6 separate regions of the Homo sapiens genome follow, and regions 2, 3, 4, 5 and 6 are each linked to region 1. The links are contacts of gene promoters, found by promoter capture Hi-C in blood cells and fetal thymus (Javierre and others, 2016). All regions are on one chromosome and are shown on one strand. The core of a region is centred on a gene start or on the middle of the fragment in contact, and the rest is flanking DNA. Distances in the headings are between cores, read along the strand shown.

Evidence for each region. Contacts are between HindIII fragments. The CHiCAGO score rates a contact against its expected background, and 5 or more counts as called.
Region 2: a fragment that was not itself captured here is called in contact with the fragment with the promoter of GOPC in region 1 in 1 of 17 cell types (neutrophils); the score reaches 7.1 in neutrophils.
Region 3: a contact is called between the fragment with the promoter of RWDD1 here and the fragment with the promoter of GOPC in region 1, in 2 of 17 cell types (non-activated CD4 T cells and total CD4 T cells). The highest score is 6.6, in non-activated CD4 T cells.
Region 4: a fragment that was not itself captured here is called in contact with the fragment with the promoter of GOPC in region 1 in 1 of 17 cell types (neutrophils); the score reaches 8.5 in neutrophils.
Region 5: the fragment with the promoter of NT5DC1 here is called in contact with the fragment with the promoter of GOPC in region 1 in 2 of 17 cell types (non-activated CD4 T cells and naive CD8 T cells); the score reaches 5.9 in non-activated CD4 T cells.
Region 6: the fragment with the promoter of TSPYL1 here is called in contact with the fragment with the promoter of GOPC in region 1 in 1 of 17 cell types (total CD8 T cells); the score reaches 6.5 in total CD8 T cells.

The regions. Positions count from the first base shown.
Region 1 is chr6:117,601,126-117,603,991 of GRCh38, forward strand. It overlaps GOPC (golgi associated PDZ and coiled-coil motif containing), which reads right to left and starts at 1,386. Exons shown (of 9, transcript NM_020399.4): 1 at 879-1,386. The coding sequence starts at 1,163. It also overlaps the pseudogene NEPNP. RefSeq lists enhancers at 1,268-1,357, 1,488-1,777. The HindIII fragment of the contact is 3,398 bases long and covers 1,032-2,866 here.
Region 2 is chr6:118,612,028-118,615,234 of GRCh38, forward strand. The region is part of intron 2 of CEP85L (centrosomal protein 85L); the gene reads right to left. Among named protein-coding and RNA genes, the nearest start is that of CEP85L, 38 kb to the right of the region's middle. RefSeq lists a silencer at 1-86. The HindIII fragment of the contact is 3,565 bases long and covers 1-3,207 here.
Region 3 is chr6:116,569,892-116,573,020 of GRCh38, forward strand. RWDD1 (RWD domain containing 1) reads left to right here and starts at 1,613. Exons shown (of 7, transcript NM_015952.4): 1 at 1,613-1,764. The coding sequence starts at 1,692. RefSeq lists enhancers at 1,008-1,187, 1,218-1,547, 1,768-1,867 and a silencer at 1,588-1,667. The HindIII fragment of the contact is 4,586 bases long and covers 1-3,129 here.
Region 4 is chr6:118,764,502-118,767,506 of GRCh38, forward strand. No RefSeq gene overlaps it. Among named protein-coding and RNA genes, the nearest start is that of CEP85L, 110 kb to the left of the region's middle. The HindIII fragment of the contact is 1,587 bases long and covers 575-2,161 here.
Region 5 is chr6:116,099,057-116,102,191 of GRCh38, forward strand. It overlaps NT5DC1 (5'-nucleotidase domain containing 1), which reads left to right and starts at 1,797. Exons shown (of 12, transcript NM_152729.3): 1 at 1,797-1,967. The coding sequence starts at 1,875. It also overlaps a transcript of FRK not described here. RefSeq lists enhancers at 1,457-1,979, 1,980-2,500 and a silencer at 1,613-1,872. The HindIII fragment of the contact is 3,203 bases long and covers 414-3,135 here.
Region 6 is chr6:116,278,499-116,281,391 of GRCh38, forward strand. TSPYL1 (TSPY like 1) reads right to left here and starts at 1,432. Exons shown (of 1, transcript NM_003309.4): 1 at 1-1,432. The coding sequence starts at 1,332. The coding sequence ends at 19. It also overlaps a transcript of DSE not described here. RefSeq lists enhancers at 796-845, 866-1,135, 1,366-1,425. The HindIII fragment of the contact is 6,415 bases long and covers 1-2,761 here.

The DNA.
Region 1 (2,866 bases), core at 136-2,635:
AAAGACCCATTCTCTTAAATTGCCTAGTTAGAAAGTACTCTTTATGCAATAATGTTAATCTATCTTGATTTCTAAATATTTTAATAATGTCCTTTTTAAATTTTCTGCACAATATGATATTTTTGTTTTTTTGAACCACAGCCACTCCACCCTCACCCACACCCAGGATCAGAGATTAAAGCAAATGATTCTTTACACTCTCTCAAAAATAAATCCAGACTTTGGAAAATTACACAGTAATGTACAAGCATATAAAAACTCAAGGTCAGAAGTAATTTCAATAATTGCAGGGAGCTCTCTGGAGGTATCTGCCTGTAATTTAACAACCAACTATGGATGTAAACCGAGACAGTGATACTATCGTTATGCACCACGAAATTTTCCTAAGAGCTTTGATCAGATTCCCCTAAATAGTTTATGCATGTCTCTGTATGCAATCATAGGCGCTGACCTGGAATAATTAAAATGAAAATAATCAGTGCTGTATCTGTCTTAACATATACAAATTCGGTTTATCAATGTGAAAGCAGATCTGCAAAACTCAGTTGTCAAAAGGTGGCCTACGGTATTTTCATGACAGAGAATCTTTGTTAGGTTTGTTAATGTAACATGTGCAATGGAGGCTGGTGTATGTAATTAGTTTCCTCCTCAGAGAGATACTAGGAAGGTGGACGACAGTACCCCGGGAACTCACACGTCGGTCTAGGGCCCTTTTTGTCCCCCACCCTCACCTCACTCCTCAGACATGCACTCTCCCATCACATTTGAAGCCCCGGTGGGCAGTTTTCTAGGGTCGTTTCACTGGAGCGTTAAATGGCATCTGACGCCACCGGGCAGCCTGGGGTTGGATGCCATAGCCGCCAGCACCCACGGCTCACCTCCAGCTTGTGGTTGATTTGAGACACAGACTGGGCTTTGTGGCAAAGCTGTGCAAAGCAGGAGCTCAGGCTGGTCATCTTCTGTCGCCCCTCATAAGTGATGTCCGCTTGGTCTGGATCGATCTCTCCCAGGAGCAGATCCACATCCACAAAAGCTTTGTCGAACTCCTTCTCCAGCACCTCCAGCCACCGGAACATGGATACCCCGCCAGGGGCCCCCACGGAGCAGGAGGCGCCCCCTGGGCCCCCTCCGGCTGCTGCTGGGCATGGACCGCCCGCCGACATGGCGCCGTCAAGGGCCTCTCCCGACTGCTGAAGACCCTCGCCGCCCCCCGCGCACGAAGGGAACTGCTGGGACTGAGGGGACCCCCGCGCGCGCGGGCACACTCCGTCACCTCCCTTCACCTCGCGCCGTTAACGCCAGCAGCACAGTCACAGAACCGCAGGAGTAACGAGGCTGAAGCTGAGGCGGCAACGGCGGCGACACACGGAAGACTCAGTCAGTCCCACCTCCCAGCCTGCCCCCGCTGCGCATGCGTAGCGAAGAGCTGGGCGGACGCAGCCACGAGGGACAAAATAGGCGGGGACAGGATGCGATCTTGGCCTATGAAAGGCCTCAGCTTGGGAGCGGCCTGTCAGCGGCCATATTAACAACTGGCAAACTACGGCTTGAATCCCTGAGAAACGGAGGCGCGTGGTTTCTGCACCCTGGTTGGAAAGGCCCGAGGATGAGAAAGGTGTCCACGTCGCAGAAAGGAAGGATTTCCGCCGGTTTGACTTAACAGTTGGCGGGAGCCGTTCCAAAATCCTCCCAGAAAGTTGCTGCGGTGGCATCTAGGGTCAGGGAGGGGAGAGCAAGGAAGGGCGGTGTGAGCATGCGCAATAGCCACGTTTTTACCTTCTCGATTCCAGTTCCTGGATAGGATGGAGTGGGTGTACACACTGGCTGTTCTTGGTAAACCAGACCCCAAATTCCAGGTGTGGACTGCCTAAAGCTGCGCATTGAAGCGGCTGACCAGATTTTGCGGAATTAATAGAAGACTTTTTGTCTTGTGATTAAGAGTCAGGTAGACCTGGATTCAATTCTTACCCTCTGTCACATACTACCTGTGTCGCCTTTCATGTATTAACCTCGAAACCAAGTTTCCAAATTTTACTTAACTCAGTTGTAAGGTAAAACGCTTAGCGTCACTTCTTGGCACACGGTATTCCTCTTAATACACCATAGGTCACACATTTCAAAAGCAACTACAGTAGTGCTTCACTTAAGATGGGGATATGTTCTTAGGAATGTGTCCTTAGGTTAATCATCCCTTAGGGAACATCCTAGAGTGTATTTAAACACAAACCTAGATAGTATAGCCTACTACACACCCAGGCTATATGATGTAGCCTATTGCTCTTAGGCTGTAAACCTGTACAGCATGTTGCCATTCTGGATACGGTAGGCGATTATAACACAGTGGTAACTATTTGTGTACTTAAACATATCTAAACATAGAAAAGGTACAGTCATATACTCTTATAGGATCACCATAGTTTATGCGATCCATTCATTGCTGAAGCCTTGTTATTTGGCACATAACTGTACTTTAAAAGGTGTATTTATTTGAAAACTGGTAGTGTCCTCACACGTGACATTTCAGAAAATCAAAATTGTGAATTCATATATTTACAAATATATTGAATGCAGAGCTCTGTTGCGACATTGAAGACACAAAAATGAATGAGACATGACCCTTACTCAAGATAGGCTAGTGAGGCTACTACCCCTCAACTATAACTTTAACTTGAATTTTTCAGTGCCTTTAAAAGTATCCAGCAACTCCTCTCTTTACATTCTGCCTACTTCCAGTTCAAGGGTAGACAGTCCTAGAAAGGGAAAGAGAAACCTGTGTGATTAGAGTAGGCTGGTGGAAACTCCTGCATTACCTAGAAGCATATTTAGCTGAGTGCAGTCTGCTGTTATCTGTTCTTGGGGCAGACCC
Region 2 (3,207 bases), core at 229-2,728, 1.0 Mb after region 1:
AATACACATTCTTTCCAAGTACCCACAGAACATACATCAAATATACCATACGGTGGGCCCTAAAACAAATGTCAACAAATTTAAAGGACTGAAATCACATGAAGAGTTTCTGGCTACAATGGAAAAAACTAGAAATTAATAACAGAAAGACAGCAGGAAAATCTCCAAACACTTTGAAACTAAACAACACACTTACAGTCCTGAGAAGCAAAGAGGAAGTCATAAGGCAAATAAAAAAAAAAACCACACTGAACTAAAATGAAAATATAAAATATCAAAATTTGTGGGACACAGCTAAAGCAGTTCTGAGAGGAAAATTTATAATAGCATATTTTAAAAGTGGCAAACGGCCAGGTGCGGTGGCTCACACCTATAATCCCGGCACTTTGTGAGGCCGAGGCGGGTGGATCATGAGGTCAGGAGATCCAGATCCTGGCTAACATAGTGAAACCCTGTCTCTACTAAAAATACAAAAAAAAAAAAAATTAGCCAGGCATGGTGACGGGTGCCTGTAGTCCCAGCTACTGGGGAGGCTGAGGCAGGAGAATGGTGTGAACCAGGAGGCGGAGCTGGCAGTGAGCCGAGACTGCACCACTGCACTCTAGCCTGGGCGACAGAGTGAGACTCTGTCTCAAAAAAAAAAAAAAGCGGGGGGGGGGGGGGGGGACTCTCAAATCAGTAATCTAATCTGCTAACAAGAACCTAGAAAAAAAGAAGAGTTCAACAGACCCAAAGCAGAAAAAAAGGAAGCAACAAAGAGCAGAAATTGCTGAAATTGAAAACAGAAAACAAATGAGAAAATTAATGTGATCAGGAGATGGTTCTTTGTAGAGATCAGTAAAATCAACAAACTGCTACCAAAACTGAAAAACAAGGCAGGAAGACACAAATTAACAATAACTGAAATGAGGCCAGGTGTGGTGGCTCACACCTGTAATCCCAGCACTTTGGGAGGTCGAGGCGGGCGGATCGCCTGAAGTCAGGAGTTTGAGACCAGCCTGACCAACATGGAGAAATCCCCTCTACTAAAAATACAAAAATTAGCCAGGAGTGGTGGGCCTGTAATCCCAGCTACTCAGGAGGCTGAGGCAAGAGAATCGCTTAACCCGGCGGGCAGAGGTTGCAGTGAGCCGAGATCGCGCCACTGTACTCCAGCCTGGGCAACAAGAGCAAAACTCCGTCTCGAAAAAAAGAAAGAAAAACAATAACTGAAATGAAACAGGAGACATCACCACATAGCCTGCAGACATCTAACAAATAATAAGAGAATGTTATAAACAATTCTACACACATAAACTTGATAATTTAGGTGAAATCAACCACTTCCTCTAAAAAACAAATGCAACGCATCCAATTTGAAACAGATAATTTGAATTACTTTATAACTATTAAGGAAATCGAATTCATAATTTTAAAATTTCAAAAATTAAAAATCTCTGGGCCCACTGGCCAGGTGCAGTGGCTCACGCCTGTAATCCTAGTACTTTGTGGGGCCAAGGCGGGTGGATCACCTGAGGTCAGGAGTTCAAGACCAGCCTGGTCAACATGGCAAAATCCTCTCTCTACTAAAACTACAAAGATTAGCCCGGCGTGGTGGCACACACCTATAATCCCAGCTACTCGGGAGGCTGAGGAAGGAGAATCGCTTGAACCCAGGAGTTGGAGGTTGTGGTGACCCGAGATCGCACCACTGCACTCCAGCCTGGGCAACAAGAGCAAATCTGTGTCTCAAAAAAAAAAAAAAAATTCTGGGCCCAGAGTGTTTCACTGAAAATTCTACCAAATGTATAAAAAAGAATCAGCACCATTCTATACAATCTCTTCCAAAAAATAAGAGAGAACATTTCCCCATTCATTTATAAAGGTATTATAGTATTAACCCTGATATCCAGAGAGTACCTGAGAAAAAAACTACAGGACAATATTCCTTATCGATACACGAAAACAATCCTTAACAAACTATAAACAAAATTCAGCAATATATAAAAAGAATTATATACCATGACCAAGTGGCGCTTATTCCAGGGATAAAAAGTTCGTTAAACATTTTTTAAATCAAGTAATAAAATGCACCACCATATCAACAAACTAAAGAAGAAAATCATAAATCAATTCATTGAGGAAAAAAAATTGACAACATCTAATACCTATTCATGATAAAAACCCTCTGCAAACTAGGAATAAGAAGTGCCCTCAAATTGATAAATGGTATCTACAAAAACCTACAGCTAACAGCTATACTACTGCTACTTAATAGTGAAAAGACTGAATGCTATATCTGTGTAATCAGAAACAAGGCAAGGATATCCACTTCTACTACTCATAAACATTGTGCTAGATTCTTCTAGTCACTGCAGTAAGTCAAGAGAAGAAAACAAAAGGCACACAAATCAGAAAGAAAAAACTCCTTATTTATAGACAATGTGATTGTCTACATTCAAAATTCCAAGGTATCTACCAAAACAAACTCTTAGAACTAATGCGTGAGTTCAGCAAGGTAACAAATACAAGATAAATATACAAAAAGCAAATGTGGCCGGGCGCAGTGGCTCACACCTGTAATCCCAGCACTTTGGGAGGCTGAGGCAGGTGGATCACCTGAGGTCAGGAGTTCAAGGACAGCCTGACCAACATGGAGAAACCCCGTCTCTATTGAAAATAAAAAAATTAGCTGGTGGTGGCACATGCCTGTAATCCCAGCTACTCGGGAGGCTGAGGCAGGAGAATTGCTTGGACCCCGGAGGTGGAGGTTGCAGTGAGCCAAGATCGTGCCATTGCACTCCAGCCTGGGCAACAAGAACAAAACTCCATCATTCATTCATAGACAGACAGACAGACAGATAGATAGATAGATAGATAGATAGATAGATAGATAGATAGATTTTTTTAAAAGCAAATGTATTTCTATATTATAAATGTATTTCTAAACTTATTTCTGTGTTCTATGTCTTAAAACTTGAAAATACAATATAATTTACAATCACTCCAAAAACATAAAATATTAAGTGTAAATCTAACAACATATGCATAGAAAATATTAAAAACTATACAACGCTGATGAGCAAAATAAAAAATCTAAATAAATGAAGAACATACCATGTTCATAGACTGGAAAACTCACCAAGAAAAGATGTTATTTCTCCCCAATCTGATAGCTAAACAACAAAATTCCTATCAAATTCCTAGGAAGACTTTTTTTGTATTCTT
Region 3 (3,129 bases), core at 363-2,862, 1.0 Mb before region 1:
TTGCCAAATTTGATTCTGTCTTCCTCACTTATTTTGGTCAACAGAACTTCGTCTTTCCAGTTCTTCCAGCCAAAAATCATCCTTGACTCCCCACTTAGGACTTAATGCACTAGCTGTTTCCTCTGGCAGCTCTTTCCTCATAATAAATCAGTATAATTCCTCTGAACTGAGGCGATCCAAAAAAAATGAGCAACTTATACTTGCAAAGTTACTTTATGTATTTTATTTGATTGTCATCATAGTTAGGAGACTCCACTTTTTCATTAAAGTTTAAAAGAACGCCTGAAATCAACCCTTAATACCGTAAACACGGAATCAGTATCAAAGTGTTCCTCTGCTATAGGTAAGCAGCACTCCTCAATAAAAGATCAAGGTGCCTTCTGGTGCTTCAGGGGCTTCATCATTAGGAATCTTTCATTTAAAAAGTGTTCCTCCCACTATACCAGTGAAACCAGCTTTAATACAGAGAAATCAAAACAAAGAAAAATACAGAAAAGTGGGCAACAGCTTTTGAGTATTTTCTTAAAATTTTCCATTTTTCGACTTAGCGCAATAATATAATAAAGGAACATGGGATCCTTTATTATTGTTACCATAGTTTTTAATATCATTTTCATAAAGCTAACCATGTTTATTTAGCCATTTTCTTAGCTTTTGCCATCATGGTTCTTTGAAAATTTTCTTTGTAATTGCTGCAATGATTTTGGAGATCACAGATGCATGCTACTTGCTCAAGTTTATTCTTGGAAGTCGTATTACCAAATTAAAGGTTCTCAACATTTCTCGGGGTACTGCAATTTTTACATTGCATATGATAATTGTTATTACTGAGATCTACATTCCTTTCATCAATTCACAAATACACAATCACAGACATCTTGAGATCTATCATACGTCCAGCTGCGTTCATTTCACAAAATCAGAAGTTAAGCCTAAAGATCTGAACCGAGAAGCCGGACCTCCGGTCTATTTCTCCCTCCTGGATCCACCCCGACTTATTAAGCAGTTAGACCGACCCTTCCATACTCATTCAAGGCAGTGCAGAGCTTTTGCTCCCCTGCCCAGTGGAATCTACACTGGTCCCAGCCTCTCGTCCAACTCCCGTAGGACGCCAAGCAATACGGAGTTCGAGAAGCTCAGAAATCTCCTGAGCCCCACCAGTCCACACTAGGTTGCAAGCCCGCAGCACCTACGCCACGGCGTCAAACCGGAAACCAGAAAAGGTGAAGGCATCGGACGCCCCTCGCCCCAGCCCGGCCACCAGCGACACTATCCTTCACTGACGCGCGATGCCGGCCTTTCAGCCCAGACTCATCGAGCGAGGATGCAGCGCTGAGAGGCTTCTAAGGCTCAGGCCCTGCAAAGCCCAGGAGCCGGCTGTAGGTGTCCTTGGCGAATGCCAGACCGCGCGCACCGTCCCAGCAAGTCCCGAGCGAGTGTGGGACAGGCAGCAAATCAGTGCCCCCTGGCCAGGCAGAACGAGTCGAACGTGGAAGTAGGGAGCAGGCGGAGGCCGGCGCGGAGCTGCAGTTAAGCAAGCCGGGTCTGGCTTTGGGCCCTGGGCCTTCCAGCCGGGGACTCTGCGCCTGCGCCCGCCTGGCCGCCGCCCGCTCTCCCGGCGCGGCAGCTGTCTGGGCTGCTGCGCGCCGCCTAGGTGTCTGGGCGATCTATGGGCAAGAGCAAGGGCCACGATGACAGATTACGGCGAGGAGCAGCGCAACGAGCTGGAGGCCCTGGAGTCCATCTACCCTGACTCCTTCACAGGTGACTCCCGCGGCCGCAAGCCTGTAGCCGCCCCGAGGTGGAGTAGGACGGGCAGGAGCTGCCGCAGCTCTGGGCCTCATAGGTTGGGGTGGAGAAGGGGACCTTGAGGCCGCGCGGCCACCTTGCCCTCCACTCCTCAAGTTCTTCAGTCACTTACCAGCAACCCAGTGACTTTTTCTCCTTCTCTGCTTGTTCCCGGAAATCTAAAAGTCCGGGTGATGTTGGAGGGTGTCAGGCCTGAAAATTGAGTCGGGATTACTTTGGTTTCTGTGTAACCTACAGCAACCTGAGATTTATAATACATTAAGAGAAAAAATACTCCAAGTGCGATTCGTTTTTCCACAGCCGCAAGAATGTTAGTTTTCACATTTTTAGCTTTATTAAGGTAGAAACTGTTTTTCATACGATGCTGTTTTAGTTTATAGGATTCAGAGTGCTGTTTTCAGTTACTCAAATCGGTTTTGAGAGTAGCATAGTCCCTGAAGTCTGTCGGGTTTCTTTTCTTATGAAAAAAAAAAAAATCTGGCATTCAGCAGAATGCCTAATGGATAATGTGGCCCAAATTTCCGTTCTGCTATAAATTCATAGGTTGTTAGATTGGAAGGGAGATTAAACATCATCTATCCTGGGGCTCCTGCTCCAAGCCAAGGTCATGGGGGTTCAGGAAAGCTAAGTGGCTTGCTCTGTACTGTCCGCCAGCGAGTTAGCGGCAGGGCTGGTACTGAGTTATACGTCCAGAACGCTTGCCTGTTCTTTCACTTTCCAGACATATGGGACTTGGGATTCAGCTCCAGCTGAGATTGAGAGAGCAGAAGATTACTTGGTAGGTTGGGCTAATGTAAAATATTATAATGAGAAGTTCATTAGGTATAATTTAGAGGACGAGATTTCTCTATTAAGCCATGCTTCGGATGATTATAAAAATGCTACATAACTATATCAATATGGCTCCTCTGAGATTTGAGAAGCGGTCAAATAAAGCCAATATGAGTGAGTAGAACCTAGGTGTGTGCATTTACATTCCCCATCCTTTCCTTTGAGTGTTGCCTATCGTTGATAGTCAGAATTTATAGTGTAAGGTATATTACTTTAACTTATAAATTCCAACCCCTCTCCCTTTCATTGTTTAGCTTAGTTTTCTTGGCTTCACCTTTTGACCACTGCTTGCAATGGTAGCAAATTTTGTTCTGCTTTGCCAACAGGCAGATGTCTCTCAGCTATCCCTGTATAGCTCCAGTCCTGTTCATGTTCTCTCTCACCAGCAGTACATCTGTGCTGTGAGGATGTTAAGGGGATGAGTGAAGAGGGGTTTGAGAGTGTCATTAACTGGGTGAGTGTGTATGGAGTCTGGCTCCCTTCTCTATC
Region 4 (3,005 bases), core at 118-2,617, 1.2 Mb after region 1:
ATATTGTAGTATAATATAGCATACCACTGTGGTATAATGCTGTAGTATATAGTATAGTATACTATCTAGTAGTAATAAGGGGTAAAAATGTAATGTGTTCTGAATTAGCATGGATTTTTATCTTTGATTTTGGATCTTTTGCTCTGAATAGCAAAAATCAAGGGTGTTCTATTATGGTTTTAAATGGCTTTTATACCTCCTAAAATGTGATCCCATTATTTTAGGGTTTCACATCTAAAATAGGCCTCTTTCTCTTGCAGTTTACTCAGACACTCCTATCTTTCGAATTTTTTAAATTACACTTGGAATCTGGAAATAATGTCTAGCCCCTTTTAGAATGAATTCCAGTTTAAAATAAATGATTACACTCAAGAGAAAGAAATCTGTTGAGCAATGACAATGAATTTGTTTTGCGCTGCAGTCAGGTGCCCAGTATTTTGACAAATGCTGGTTCATAGAACACAGCTTCCCGTGCATGGAGAGTTCCTGTTTCTGGCCATGCAGAGGGATCTGTGGTGGTGTCACTCACTGAAGAAACACTAAAGGAAGAACAGATTTGGGGGTAAAATTCACAAGCTTCAAAAGTATTGAGGTTGAATAGTCTTTTTTATATCCTTGTAGAGACTCCAGTAGGCAGGTTAGTAACCAGGTTGGAGTAGAGAGATGTCTGGGAGAACTATTTACACTGGAAGTTTCCCATATCCCAGGCAGAATGGATCATACCTTCTCCTGTGCTCCCATATCTTTTTTCATCCAAATGGTATTGGTTGGCCTCTGCCATTGTAAGTTTTCCTTTCTCTGTCTTTTATTCTATGTATTAGTCCAGAATCTATAAGGAACTTAAACAAATCAACAAGTAAAAAACAAATCTCCCATAAAATTCGGCAAAGGGCATAAACAGACACTTCTCAAAAGAAGACATACAAGCAGCCAACAAACATATGAAAAAATGCTCATTGTCACTCATCATCAAAAAATGCAAATCAAAACCACAATGACACAATGAGATACCATCTCACACCAGTCAGAATGGCTTTTATTAATAAGTCAAAAAAAAGAACATATACTAGCAAGGCTGCGGAGAAAAGAGAAGGCTTATTCACTGTTGGTGGGAATGTAAATTAGTTCAGCCACTACAGAAAGCAGCTTGGAGATTTCTTAAAGAACTTAAAACAGAGATACCATTTGACCTAGCAATCCCATTACTGTGTATACCCAAAGGAATATAGATCATTGTACCAAAAAGACACATGAACTCGTATATTCATTGCTGTTCTATTCACAATAAAAAAGGCATGGAATCAACTAGGTGCCCATCAATAGTGGATTGGATAAAGAAAATGCGGTACATATACACCATGAAATACTATGCAGATGGAAAAAAGAATGAAATGATGTCCTTTGCAGGAACGTGGATGGAGCTGGAGGCCATTATCCTAAGCAAATTAACATAGGAACAGAAAACCAAATACTACATGTCCTCACTTGTAACTGGGAGTGAAACATTGAGCACACATGGACATAAACATGGGAACAATAGACACTGTGGACTATTAGAGGCACGAGGGAGGGAGAGGGGCGTGGATTGAAAAACTACTGTTGGGTGCTATGCTCATTACCTGGGTCCAATATCCCCATGTAACAGTCCTACACTGGTACCCCCCATATCTAAAATTAAAGCTGAAATTTTAAAACAAAAAAACAACCAAATTACCACAAATTCAGTAGCTTAAATCAACACTATTTATGTTATAGTTCTGGAGGTCAGAAGTCCACAATGGGGCAACAGTCTGGTTCCTTGTGAAGACTTCAGGGACAATCTGTTTCTCTGTCTTTTCTAGTTTCTAGAGGCCGCCTCTATCCCTTGGTTTATGTCCCCTTATCACGTCGACCTCTGTCTCTGTCATCACATCTCCTTCTCTGACTTGGGCCCTTCTGCCTTTCCTCTGTAAAGACCCTTGTGAATATATTAGGCCCATGCAGATAATTCAGGAAAAATCTCATCATCTCAAATTCCTTGATTTAATTGCATCTGCAAAGTTGCTTTTGCTATGCAAAGAAACATAGTCACAGGTTCTGGGAACTAAGATGTGGACATCCTTTAGGGGCCATTGTTCTGCCTCCCACACCTTATCTACTTGGTTATTTGTAAGTCTAGATAAGCTTCCCTGCTCTGGGGTCCTAACTGACTCAGTTTGCATCCTCCCTCTGTGTTCAACATAGTACATGGTAGGCACTCCGCACATATTATTGGAACTTACTAAAGAGCCCAGGTATGGGGTGAGGCGCTAGACTAGAATGATAGTGTTAGGGGGAAAGGAGGCTAGAGAGGACGTTTGTGGCATCTGAAGGAACCAGCGATAAGACCCTCTCTGTGCCAAGAATCAGTGATGAAAGACTGAGCTGACTGGAGGACTGTGTCCTGTCTCGATGACGGGGATGGGACTAGGAGCAGGCATGAACCAAGGTAGTTGAATGAAATGCTTTAGAAAGTACTTGCCCTCCTGATGTGCCTCATGTGTGCCTCAATGTGTAAAACCCATTTTACAAAAGATTGTAAAATGTTTTAAATAGGAGAATTTTGGTGAAATACTAGGCAACCACTGTATGATCCCACTTGGGAATATCCTATCCTAGGTGAACACATTCAGTAAGGCAACCAAGCAATTCCAAAGCTCTATGTTAGGCCAACAAGAAGGGGGCCAGCAGATTTTTAGATAAATGAGAACTGGCCAATCTGCAGACGCTCTCAGTTGAGAGTTCAAGAAGCAGAGGATCAAAGAAATAAAGTACTCATCCCCTGCCAGTGGTTGGAGCTGCTGGGAAGATAACCTTGCCCAGGCCCGGAGGTCCCAGAACTAGCAGCTCCGCTCAGCCTCTTCCATGGTGTTTAACTCCAACTATCTAGCAATTATTTGACAGGTAACATCCCTTAGAAAGGCTGATTCTAGTGTACTGATTGTATTCCTAGTTAAAAGGACCACACACCTTCAAAGCTTGGACCT
Region 5 (3,135 bases), core at 547-3,046, 1.5 Mb before region 1:
TAAGATTGTTGATGTGCATGTAATAGCCAGATCCAGTCCCAGGACCACTTGGTTATCGACCCAGGGGTCTTTTTCTCTTTAAGAGTGCCCTGGTTCCCTCTCTCCCCTTACCCCAAGTCAATTTCCTGTTCACAATTCAGCACACTCAAGAGGTTTTGTAAGGAGAAGTTTTTGCTAAGTCAACAAAAAACAATCCTTTTATACTCTTCCCTCTTACAATGAATGTACTAGTACATTTGTATTACTAAGGGAAGTCCCTAAAGTACCTAAAGCACCTACTCCCACATGAAACAAGATATTCCCCAAGGAAACATGTGCCCTTCAATGTGGCATGCACCTGGAAGTTTGACTTTGGTAGCATTCTATTGCAAGGTGCAGAGGAGAATGCCAAGGTCAATGCTCCAGGGCCAACAAGCTTTTTCCAGCCTCTCCAACAATCCAGCCTTTTCTCTTTTGGTTCACAGACATTGAAAACATGATTGTTGGACTCATCAGTGAACAGCTTAATCTTCTTGAAGATTCTTTACTTTTCCTATTCCAGAGAGATTTGTTTGGGGCTTTTAAGTGTTATAATGGAACAAGTTATCAATTTTATTCAAATGGGTCTACTAGGTATAAGTGTCCTCCTACTCAATTGTACTATCTATTGCACTAAATTAATCCTCTGATTGGTCTATTAGCCTCAGAAGGATTAGTATTTGAAAGGGTTAAATGCAGTTCTCAATCAATTATATTTTCATTATGTCACGACTATTGATTTGTCCCATTAGACACATTGTTCCTTTAAATTGAGAACTGAAGCAGTGTAAACATAATAGATTTGTATTTTCTTTTTAAAATGAGGTACTATGTAATAAAGATCTCAAAGTGCTAGTCCTTCACATCCGGAAATCAGGAAGAGAATTAAATGCCCTAAGGCATACATTGTATGTAATGGATTAACTTTCTCTGCATCTAAAATGGTAGTAGTTATACAGTTCTTGAGAGAATTAAGCAAATGTCACTCAAAACATTTTGTGCTCTATAAACCTTAAACCCGGTTTGCAAAAGTTTTTTGTAGTATGCTCTATATATTTCTATGAAGTTTCTGATGCCCTTTCATAAAAAATTCATTACAATAACAAAATAGGATTATCAAGTAATAACCAATATTGGTTTCCATAACAAGTATCATCTTGCAAAATGGTTCTTCACGATGTCTGATACATTTATTTTCTAACGCACTCCAGGGTATGAAATAGTGAAAGGTCTGTCTTCCACTTAACCACTTAGGAAACCAAGGAATATAAAGTTTTTGGTTTAAACCACTATCAAAGATCACGTGGGTGAAAAGACCTTCCAAATTGTAGGCTAACTGGGTCAGAGGGATATTAGCGGATGAATTTTTTCTATGATCTTACTATTCCTCACACAGGGGTAAAAGGTCAGGTCTAACCTCATGATCTCCTGGTTTCCGAGGCGCCCTGAGGCGATGGAGTGTCCCGGTTAATTTTGTGGTAGCCCTCGGGAAAGGCTACGTGCCTACAGGTCTCAGCTGTGCAGCAGCGGCACCGCTCCTGGACCCCTACTGCCTTCTGGGCTCCTAGGCTTGCGGAACAGATCAGGAGTCGCCGGCATTGGGGTACCAGGAGGACGCGAGCTGACTACCTGACTCCGGGCGGCGCAGGACGCCCGCCGCGCGAGGGGCGGGGGCTAAGCGTATCGAGGGGCGGTGCTCGAGGGCGCGGGAGGCGGGAGAGGCTGCCGCGCCGTGTGCCCTGGCAGCCGCAGCCCCGCCCCGCCGCGTCCGGCCCGGTCCTGTCCCGCAGCGTCCCGCCAGCCAGCTCCTTGCACCCTTCGCGGCCGAGGCGCTCCCTGGTGCTCCCCGCGCAGCCATGGCTCAGCACTTCTCCCTGGCCGCCTGCGACGTGGTCGGATTCGACCTGGACCACACTCTGTGTCGCTACAACCTGCCCGAGAGCGCCCCGGTGAGTGGCGCGGGCTCCGGGGCGCACTGCGCGCAACCTCCATGGCGGCTGGGGCTTGAGTTTCCTCCAGGTTTGGGCAACGGCGGACGCTGCCCGGGGCCTGCGGCGGCCGAGTCTTGCCGCAGAGCGCGGCCTCCAGCGGCGAGAAGGGGCGGAAGTGTGCAGCCTCCGCTCCGCGCCGGTGCCGTGGGGACCGGCACATTTACCTCAGCCATTAGCTAATGTTGAGAGGGATAGGGAAGAACGAAGGAGGGGCAAACTGCGCAAGACCGGGCTGGGGAATCGGTGATTTCTAGGGCCGAGGAGGGGCGGGGTCAGGGGGACTAGGGCTGTCCTTGAAGATCTCACGTCGTGGAACTTTCTCTGCATGTCTTTCTGGACACCAGCTGATTGTGGACACAGCCACTTGATTTGGTACTTGCATTTTTTTTGGCTGCATTTTTCTGTTTGCACGATCAACCACCCATCAGTGTTTAAACTGCAATCTGGGAGAGATGCGTAGTATATAGTGTAGTGTATTGAAAGGAACACTAGTTGAAAAGTCATTAAGATCTTAGCCCTAGTTTTACCTTCTATCAAGAGAAGAAAATACATATTTATTGCGCATCGACTACGTGCTCCGTGCACTTTGAATACATTCCAGTCCTACCAACAGTCTGCGAAGTTTGGGTCCTCACTGTGCCCTGAGGGAGGGGGACATGGAGTATGCATGCTTCCAGACCTGTACACTCAAATTAATTGCCCTCCCTCCACTATTCCTTTGGTTTCCCAATTCCCAAGGAAACTAATTTTGAAAAGTTACCAGATTTTTTTAGTCCAAGATCTAAGCATCCAGACAGAAAAAGAGCTGGTTATGAGTACAGTGGTGAAAGCGAGGACTCCTCAGCCAGACTGCCTAGCTTAGGACACCAGCTCCACTGTTACTAGCTCTGTGACTTCGAGGAAGTTACTTAACCTGTGCTGCTTCTCAGTTTCCCCATCTGTAAAATGGAGCTAATAATTGGATTTACCTCACAAGATTGTTGCAAGGATTAAATGAGTAAGAGATGTATAATGCTTAGAATAGTACCTTGGCAAAGACAAGTGTTTGCTTTTATGGTTACCACCCAAACTATTTGGAAACCTCACAGTTTATGGGTAGAACTCTAGATCACTGGTGCAGACATCA
Region 6 (2,893 bases), core at 182-2,681, 1.3 Mb before region 1:
TATTCCCAAGGGCAAATGTTAACCAGACTGGAACCCAAAGGGCCTGGGGATCTCTACAGGCTCCCTTAGCGGGCGACGTCGGGCTCTACGGACTCCTTCACGCAACAGGTAGTATTGCAGTGGATTTGGCCACAGATCCTCTTTAATAATCTCAGCAATTTTGTCGGACTCTGGAAGGCTGTGGTCTGAAAACCAAGTGAAGAAGCTGCAGATGAGGTCTTGGTTTCTGCGAATGAAGGACTGGGGTTCATGCCCCCTGCGCCATATAATTGGAGTAGAAAGAGACACCACTCGGCCGGAGGATCTTACCTCATATTCCTTGACAATCAGCTTGTTTCTGAAGTAGGGGTTTCTTCTAAAGAAGAACTTGAACTTGCAACCGGTTCTAGGGTGTCTGAGTTCCTTCACCTCTAAATTGGTTATGTACCTTAACATCTCTGCATCTTGGCCCCTAATCATGGCGGACAACTGGGGGTGGTTTCGAAAAGCAGTCATCCAGAAGCCCGGGATATTCTGAATGATGTAGTTCCTCCGCTCCAGGTAGTGTCGACGCATCCGCCCAAACTTGTGCTCCAGCTGTTGGAAGGCCCTGTCGGCCTGAGCATTCACAGTGTCCAGTTCCAGCTGGATGGCCTCCAGAGGGTCCATGCGGAGAGCCTCATGCAAAGGCCAGGGCCCTTCTTCCTCCCTCGCCTCCTCCTCCAATCTATCCTCCTCCGCCACTTCTATTTCTTCACCTTCTGGCGGCTGCTCCTCTACCTCCATCTGCTCCTCCATTACCTCCTTCTCCGCCAGGCCTTCCTTCACCACCTCAGCGCTCTCCCTCTCAGCCACGGCTGCTGAGACGGTGGCGCACTTTCCTGTCTTCACCTCCTCCGCCTCAGCCTCCGCCCCCGCCGTCAGCTCAGACGCGGATCTCTGGGCGCCACAGATTTCTAGGGCCTTCTCTCCACCCTGAACGCCCTTTTTCAGGCTGCGGTCGGCTGCCATCACCACAGAAGCGGCTGCCAGGCCTTCGGCGGGAGGCTGGCCCTCTTCCTGCCCGGCTTTGATCGCCACATGACCGCGACCCCCAACAACTCGGATCTGGGGAGTACCGCCACGGCCCGCGGCATCCTGGGGTACGCCCCCCTCCTCTGAAGGCGGTGGAGGCGGGAGCGCGACGGTCTCCGAGCCTCCCTCACCCGGCTCCGCCATCACCTGTGTCGCCTCGCTTTGGTCGCGGAGCCTCAGGTACTGGTGTGCGTCCTGGTCGCTCGGGACTTGGTCAGAAATAATGATGCTGTGGGTTTGGAGGGGAGTGGTCCTCTTGACCCCATCCAGGCCGCTCATGTTGCTAACAGTCGGACCAACCGCAGGCGAACGCCCGTTTTCCTCAGAGGCCGAACTGGGAGCTAACCGCCGCTCGCACCGCCCACCCTACAGTCTCACTAACATTTCAGCGGCGGTGTCGTCAGGACTGGAGATCTCACGGTATCGCGAGAACTTGCTGAGCCCGGGATTGGTTCCGCCGCTCCCTGCCAGCCAACCGGATTCTCTGGGCTTTATTTCTGTGAATTTACCCATAGCAACAGTAATTTTACCTACGTAAATAAATGTCGATTGTGCTGAGTCTGGAAGCGCGGACGACCCACCTTGAGATGCATCTAGCGACTGCTCCCAGCATGTAGGAGCAGTTGTAAAATCACAGCCGTAACAGTGCCTGCTCTCCAGTGTCTGAAAACAAATGTTTTTCTGGTCTTCACTTTTTTGAGGCAGGAAGGTAAATCTATTCCCTGTTACTCCACGTAACTAGCAGCAAAAGACTTCTCTTTAAGATTAATAGCAAAATGTTTCCCCCCTTCTTAGTAAAAGTGACATAAAAATATCAATTCTTGCCTCTACGGTTACTGGGGAAAAAAAGCTACTCAGCAGCCTCTTACCACTAAAGCGATGCATAGTATTCATTGCTAATTTTCGATTTATAATCTGCATCAAATAAGAGTTTGTGCTGCATAGTATCGGTAGAAATTAAGCCAGGATCAGTTTGCTAAATGTTCCATGCCTTTTCACTGCAAGAAAGAGGAAATTATAACTATTTCCAGCCCCAAGAACTTAATTTATTATCATATTTAGTTATGTAAGATAGGAATGTTTGGCTCTAACGAAGCATCTGTCTTTAGCAATCAGCTGAGTTCATTAGAGGGGGATGTCAATGTCTCTGGTTGAAGTGTTCCAGTTTGTTGACTTGTGAGTTAAACTGGTGCTGTCTTAGAGAGCTACAAGGCCTCAGAGAAATATCAGTGGGGGGAGCCACATACCACCATTTTGTGAGGAAAGGCTAGTTAAAATGGACAACTAAGATGGCCTTGAAGTAGAAAACAAACTTGCAAAGGGCAACATGCAGCTGGTGGACTCAAGGTATAAAAGAGGCAAACGTTATTTTCTACTTAATTTGCTTTGTGTGGTAGTAGCCTGATGGCCCTCAAAGATGTACCTGTCTTAGTTATGCGGCCAAAGGGACTTCGCAGATATGATTAAGTTAAAGATTTGGAGATGAGAAGATGATTCTGGATTATACAGGTGGGCCCTATGGAATTACAAATTTCTTATAAGAAGGAGGCAGGAGGGTCAGTCAGAGAAGATAAGAGGACGAAAGCACAGAGAGAGGGAAGGAATGGTGGAGAATAGGTGTGGGAGGGAGGAAAGGGAAATCGCTATGTTGCTGGCTTTGAAGATGGAGGAAGGAGCCAGGATCGTAGGAATAAAGGCAGCCTCTAGAAGCTTGAAAGGTAAGGAAATAGATTCAATCCTAGAGCCTCCAAAGGAATGACAACACCTTGAGGTTATTACCTCTAAACTCCAGCACTATAAGAAAATAAATTTGTGCATTTTAAGCTATTAAATTTGTGGT